Regions from separate parts of the Homo sapiens genome. Here region 2 is linked to region 1. Evidence: promoter capture Hi-C in human tissues and cell types (Jung and others, 2019). All regions are on one chromosome and are shown on one strand. Each heading gives the region's core, a stretch centred on a gene start or on the middle of the fragment in contact. The rest is flanking DNA. Distances are from core to core; before and after follow the strand shown.

Region 1 (3,753 bases), core at 308-2,807:
GGGCTGGCTCTGAGCTTCACCATGAAAGAAGTGCACATGAGAATGGTTTCTGTCGGGCCCTCACTTTGGTTAATTCTACTGCTTTCTCCTCAGGGATGATGAAGGCCCCCAGCTCATCCCCAGGGAAATGATGCAACCAGGTAGCTGGATCAGAAATGAAAAAGTCAGGAAAAGGGAAAGGTTGCTTGCGCAGTTACTAGGGATACGAAAAGGAGGCTAAAAAACGGCAGGGGGTGGCCTGGAGGGAATGTGAAACATTTTTGTGTGTTTTACACACACCGAAAAAAAAAGAGGACATGGACAGAAACCTAGAGAATAGGAGGACAGCATAGTATAGTTACTAAGAATAAGCTAAGAGTTGGTTCCCCGGGACCAAACAGATACCATTTCCAAAACCCACGAATTACTTACCGGCTGTCTCAATTCACCTAAGCTTCCCTTTCTTGTCTGTAAATGAGCATGAAAGTGCCACCTGTATAAAATAACTCAGGCTCCCAAAATGTAACATAGGGAAGCTCCTAGCAGCGTGTCTGGGAGGAATAAGCATTATCTGTATTTATCGTATCAAATTAAGATAGAGGAACACAGGAGGACAGTAGAGGATGAAAATAAAACACTACTTAGATCCTGACCCTCCTCAGTGGCAAGTAGTGAGCATTCACTTCGTACAGAAGTAGCACTAAGGCAAATTAAAAGAAAGGTTCACATTTCCTCTAAAAGAAATGGTTTTTGAGTCATGCCAATACCACTTACTCAATGTCCTCTGTACTATACTATTCTCTGACAGAGCCACTTATTAAATGTGTGAACTGTGCTGACAACACTTGACAACTTTCAACATGAGGGAACAGCAGGATCACTTAACAGAACAAAATCGTAAAATAATGTCAAAGCTTGATTTCAGGTGGTGCGGTGTAGCACTGCTCTTCACGAAATCAGGACTCCCCCGACCAGGCAGGGCCGACTAGGTTAGAGTGTCCTGCCCTCACTCACCTGGCAGGGCTTGGGATGAGCTGGACGTGACTGCCACAGGCATTTCTGTTCAACCTTGAAGCCTTCGCTACAGGAGACCGCCTGGCAGTCGGGCTGGGAAGCAAATCTGAGAAACAAAGAGAGACCAGGCGGAAAGCCCTTGGGACCAGGAAGGAGAGATGAGATTCTGGTTTGGCAGTGGCACCTGGTACCCGCTATTAATAAATAATAGGACTGTCTGACATTTATAAGGCACTTTATCGGTAATAACAGTGTCATCTCCATAAGCCATTCTATTAGTGGTAACAAATAATAGCCCCACGCCTGCAATATCTCCTTTAATATTCCCAACGTCCGCTAAGCGCGTCTCATCACCATTTAAAGAAACCGTGGCTCCTAGAGGTAAAGTACTTCGGTCACAACGCGAGGAGGTCCAGACTTGACCCCAGACCTCCAGACTCGAGCTGGGAAGTGGCCGAGGCTCCTGGTGAGCCGCAGGGCAGCCTGCCCAGCCCCGGGAGGACCGCGTGGGAGGGCCGGGAGAGCAGGTGGCTGCCCCCCACAAGGGGGCGGGCTCAGCCGGCCAGTCCTGCCCGGAACCCCCGGCAACGCGCATACGACTACACCTGCTCCGGAGCCCGCGGCGGTACCTGCAGCGGAGGAGCTCTGTCTTCCCCTTCATCTCACGCGAGCCCGGCGTCCCGCCGCGTGCGCCCCGGCGCAGCCCGCCAGTCCGCCCGGAGCCCGCCCAGTCGCCGCGCTGCACGCCCGGGGTGAACCCTCTGCCCTCGCTGGGACAGAGGGCCCCGCAGCCGTCATGCTTTCCGCCATCTACACAGTCCTGGCGGGACTGCTGTTCCTGCCGCTCCTGGTGAACCTCTGCTGCCCATACTTCTTCCAGGACATAGGCTACTTCTTGAAGGTGGCCGCCGTGGGCCGGAGGGTGCGCAGCTACGGGAAGCGGCGGCCGGCGCGCACCATCCTGCGGGCGTTCCTGGAGAAAGCGCGCCAGACGCCACACAAGCCTTTTCTGCTCTTCCGCGACGAGACTCTCACCTACGCGCAGGTGGACCGGCGCAGCAATCAAGTGGCCCGGGCGCTGCACGACCACCTCGGCCTGCGCCAGGGAGACTGCGTGGCGCTCCTTATGGGTAACGAGCCGGCCTACGTGTGGCTGTGGCTGGGGCTGGTGAAGCTGGGCTGTGCCATGGCGTGCCTCAATTACAACATCCGCGCGAAGTCCCTGCTGCACTGCTTCCAGTGCTGCGGGGCGAAGGTGCTGCTGGTGTCGCCAGGTGAGCCCCGAGGATCGCCCTGCCCTGGCACCAGGGCTTCTCGGCGCCTTGACTGACGAGCCACAGCGTGGCATAAGGGGTTCGCAGAGGGAGGTTCAGATCGGAACTGTAGGTATAGAAAAAGGTTGGCAGTGTTTCCTTGAATCGCAAATAATGATCTTTTAGGACCACCTGTTGTGGAAGCTGATAATGTGCTAGGTTCTGTGTTAAGCACTCTACAGGCAGTGTGGTTTTTAATCCTCACAATGGGTAGGCTTTGTTATAGGACTTTTATAGATGAGACCACTGAGGTCCTGAGAGGTGAAGCCTCATGCCCAGCCATCTATCTCCAAATTCCAAGCTCTTAATCAATACTTATAACATCTGCATTAAAATGCAGAGGATCTTGAGTGCGAACTCTAGTGGATCCAGAGGGGCTCTTCTCACCTCTGCTGCTTGACTGGCTGTGTGATCATGGGAAAGTCACTTCTCCTCTCTGTCCCTTGGTTTGCTCCTCTCTAATGAGGCAGGCTTCAATGTTGCTTCCAGCTCTCAACTGCTGTTAGCATCCTGTCCCCTCCCTGCAGAACAAAGGTGACCCCACCTGATCCCCAGGGAGAAGATACTGGGGATCTGCTACAGGACCGTTGTGAGCCCCCACTGCATCTATCACAATAGTGACCCTTTCAGTTCTGTGGTTAGCTCCTGCCACATTTCAGCCAGACTTGAAACAGTAACTTAAGTGATGACAAGGTCAGGAAGTGACAGAGAACCTGTTACTCACAGGGCTGATGGCTTTCCCCTCCCAGAGAGCTTGTCTCTGCACTTGAATAAGGACCAAGGGTTCCTTCTCTCAGTCAGTAAGAAGAGGCCTACACAGGAGTGGGCTGAAAGACCTGGGTGACAGGGTAGGGGTCGAGGGAGCCGAGGAGCCTCAGCTTTCTAGAATGCATTTCTGTGCTAAGCCCTATAGTAGATGCTTTTATTACCCCGGGAGATAACATATCACTATCCCCACCACCACCACCACCATTATACAGTTGAGAAAACTGAGGCTTAAAATTCCAACCTAGCTCTATCCAACTTCGAAGCCATGCTCTTTCCTACATCTTTTTTTTTTTTTTTTTTGACAGTCTCGTTCTGTTGCCCAGGCTGGAGTGCAGTGGCGCTATTTCAGTTCACTGTAACCTCTGCCTCCCAGGCTCAAGCGATCCTCCCAGCTCAGCCTCTCAAGTAGCTGGGACCACAGGCATGCACCACCATGCCCAGCTAATTTTTTGTTATTTTTGGTAGAAACAGGGTTTCACCATGTTGCCCAGGCTGGTCTCAAACTCCTGAGATCAAGCGATCCACCCACCTTGGCCTCGCAAAGTGCTGGGATTACAGGTGTGAGCCACCACACCCAGCCTCTTTCCTACATCTTATTGTTTTCCTCTGCATGGATGTAAACTGTTAAGTGTGCTGGAAGGGATGAAGTGTCCACTTGCTCTACCCCTTCATTTCATAG
Region 2 (3,721 bases), core at 322-2,821, 1.1 Mb before region 1:
GTGACTAAAATAATATTTTAAAAAATCCTTAGTAAATTAATGATTACAGATCTCTGAGCTTCTTAAAAAGAGGTAAAGGGAATCCACTAGGCAAATAATTTTTTGTCTTATGGACTAACTGCTTCACCCATAGATTTAGACTGACACTGACACCACAAAAGCATACATACCTGTGTTTACTGAAGAACTGTAACTATTGATTAAAAAAGAAAATTTCCCACAAAATTTCTACCATCATGGATATTTTAAATATTAAGAATAAGAGTTTTTCAGTCTAAGACAAACCTAAGTCTTACATAAGGTAACAAACACTACCACCCACAGTATAGCTCATTTAAAATAGGCCTCACTTAAATATTAGGTTCTCAGTTTTCCTGAAAGATGTATCAGCCTGTAGTTAGAAGGGACTCATGTAATGAGAGCATTACTTAGTACATATATACTCATCTTTAAAAAGAAATCAGTTATGTTACATTAAGATGTAGAGAAAAAGTATTTAATCAACAACTTTAATGTAAGAGCAAGAGTGAGTAATGGAAATCCAGCTCTTGTAGTAGAGAGCATCTACTTGTGGCAGCCAAAGATTTCTTTGCAGTAACTTTTAGCTAGGTTTAGGGATAAAAAGAAGAATGAGATGAACACATTACAATATGATGTAAACCACTGGTATGGTTTTCACAAAAGTGGAAAAGATTTAATCAGTGAATAAATGCTACAAATTTGCCAATCGATTTTTAACTTCCCCTAAATTTATATTTCGATAAGCAATCTCTAAGATTTCAACTCTACAATATTTGATGCACAAAAACACAGAAAAATGTTTTAAGGGAAGAATAAATTATTTTAAGTTAGTCAGACTGTTAAGATATATTTAAAAACCTGTATTCCAGAACAAAAGTCACAGATGACTAACAGAAAAAAAAGAACGCACCTATATCTGGGTAAACAAAGCTATGTAATACACAATTACAATAAATTATTATGGTATAACTTTGGATACTGTTATATATTTAGCCCAGTTTTCCAAATAACAAGTGCATGCTTTCTCTCTAGAAAGTGGAAGATGCACTATTGTACAAAGCAAAGATAGCACAGGAGAACTGGGCACTGTAAGAATTGGAGGATAAAGGTTAAATCATTTCATTCAAATCTTTGAATTCTAATTCCATCAACTCAAAAGTTAAGAAGGGCTTTAGCTTTCAAGGGTTATCACATGCATACATATTTGAATACAGGCACAAAAACTCATCATTTTTATTTGGATAACAAAGGGTCTCCAAATTATATTGAAAAATAAATCCTAATTAATATCACTCTTGTAAAAAAAGTTTAGCACACTTTTCACAAATGATTTATGTAAAAGAGAAAATACACATAATTTTATAATATCTTAAACTTTTATTCCCTACCATAGACATTTTGTCTTTTGTTTTCTTTCCGTTTTCTACAATTTCCAACTTGTACCTGTGTTTAATACTGCTTTAGTCTGCTAAAGACATTAACTGATTGCTTTTCTAAATCTAAGGATTATATATTTTTAGTATAAATATATATCACATATTTTCGTAAAATTTTGACAAAACCGAATAAGCATGCCTTGTTTTAAGTCCATGCTCCTTCCACTGTTTATAAAATCTGATTTAATGATCAAAAAATTCTTGGTTGTCACTCTTCTGTAACCACAATCTTCCTTCTGAACTGCCACCCAGTTTTTACATAATAATAACAAGCAATAGAAAAACCAAAGAAATTATGTTAATCCTAGTTCTTCCTTTCGACACTATAAAATAATGTGAACTTTTTAAAAAATGAAACAAATACATCCAAAACTCAATACATTCAAATGAGCTGAGTTCCTTTAAGGTAGTTACCTTGGAAGGCCACAGTTCATTCTCCTAAGTATACTGCCACTGCTCAAAAAACCTTTAAAACTCTTTTGGGATTGCCTTCAAAGCCAGTTATATACTTTCTGCATTACCTCAAAGTTAGGTGGAAGTTTTGGAAACTTTCATTTGGTGCCAAGTAATGGTAACTAAAAATAATCAAGCTTCCTAATACTATATTTTTTAAAACAATGTATAATCATAAAGTTTAGTGTGTGTGACAAATTAACTTTGAATGCAATTCTAAAAGAGTAAACTCAGCAGGTTTTGGGCAATGGTAGATTGCTGGCATTAGGAAATAACCTTCCAGCATGATCACTATGCAGAGTAACATTCATTTAGCTGTCTATGTTCTGGCATATTCGTTTAAAGTGAACATTCTGAGAGTTAGTATTCTTTTGAAAAGGAATATCACTCTTTAAAAAAAAAGAATTTTATTCCTTTAAAGCATCACTGTCATAACTATGCACGTGTTTTGTTAGAAAGTAGTTCTCCTTACTCTATCAATAAAGACTACTTTTAAAAACTTGAAAGCAAATAACCAACTTATTTGCCCCCAGGCTTTTTAAAATCATTAACTGAAGATAAAATAATTTGAAATTTCGAAGGTACTAAAAAACAAAACAACTCCAAATGTAATAAAAACACATCAAGAACCAAACTACAATTTCTGAGCTGCACTGTTTATTTTGCTGCTTGAAACCTAAGTGACAGTATGCCACTATAATTATGGGGTTTCGTCTAAACCTTTACTACACTGCAGGTACAGAAATATACGGACACATTTTTAGAGAATTGACATTTTGCAAAATGCAGCAAACATTTTAATTTATACATGAGAAAAGGAAGTGTTCAAAAGGGTATGCATTTCAAGTTATTGCAGGTTATTTGTGAGAGAATTTCTGCAGGTAAAACATGTTTAAATTTAACCAACAGTAGCGTGTCAGTGTATTTAAAATCATGACAAAAATCTTCTCTCTGGTCATGTTGCCCATGACAAATTACTATGATGTTGTACGTTTAGGGCAAGATGTCAATACAGCATAAATCCCATGGTATTTTGGTTTTCTTCTGGAGATTAAAGCTGTTTTTCTTGGGATAAATGCAGCAGCAAAACACAAACCAGTTGATCAAAAAAGCACTTCTGCCATAACTCCAATAATTTTCAGGACACATCAACCGACAGTAGTTTTGCCATTCCCAGTTCTTTTAAGGATTACATCTCTGCACTGTTGCCTTAAGGACGTCTGTAAAAGCTTGTTCTCTGTTAAGCCAGTTTACTGACTACAGCCTGGTTGAGAGAATTTAGTTGGTTGGTCCATTTATCTAGTGCAGTATATCGTGCACCACCCCTCTTCTGATGATCCAGTTCAAGGAGTTGGTTGACTTGATCAATTCGGCCATGAATAGTGCTAGAAAGAAATAAATAAGATGTGTCTACAAAAGACTTTCATCAAGCACAGTTTCTGGATTAATGTTTCATAAAATACAGTATCAACAAATGCCAAAAAAAAAGCAGCTGCCTACATTAAATGAGTTCAGTGTTAGTTTTAACTTCACTGTGTTATTCAAACTCTAGATAGAAACCAGATTTCAGATACTTTTCATCAGTTTCACTGAAAGACCCATAAGGCATAGATTTATCCGATTAATCAAAGGCAAGTATCACCTGTGAAGCTTTAAACAATGTACTGTTTTCAAGTAAGATACAATTTCAAAAATGTTATGTACCACATACCCTATACTTAAAAACATACATAAATACTATTCATTAAATAATTCTTTGGCTGTATATAATAAGAAATCCTTCTGAAAAATCATTTAGAACTTTTTCTGAG

The links. Contacts are between HindIII fragments. The study calls those that stand out against the background at their distance.
Region 2: a fragment that was not itself captured here is called in contact with the fragment with the promoter of SLC27A2 in region 1 in 1 of the 25 tissues and cell types used here (lymphoblastoid cells).

The regions. Positions count from the first base shown.
Region 1 is chr15:50,180,639-50,184,391 of GRCh38, forward strand. SLC27A2 (solute carrier family 27 member 2) reads left to right here and starts at 1,558. Exons shown (of 10, transcript NM_003645.4): 1 at 1,558-2,267. The coding sequence starts at 1,790. It also overlaps a transcript of ATP8B4 not described here. RefSeq lists silencers at 1,450-1,789, 2,060-2,159. The HindIII fragment of the contact is 4,473 bases long and covers 664-3,753 here.
Region 2 is chr15:49,124,800-49,128,520 of GRCh38, forward strand. COPS2 (COP9 signalosome subunit 2) reads right to left here. Exons shown (of 13, transcript NM_004236.4): 13 at 1-3,295. The coding sequence ends at 3,151. Among named protein-coding and RNA genes, the nearest start is that of COPS2, 29 kb to the right of the region's middle. The HindIII fragment of the contact is 3,555 bases long and covers 1-3,349 here.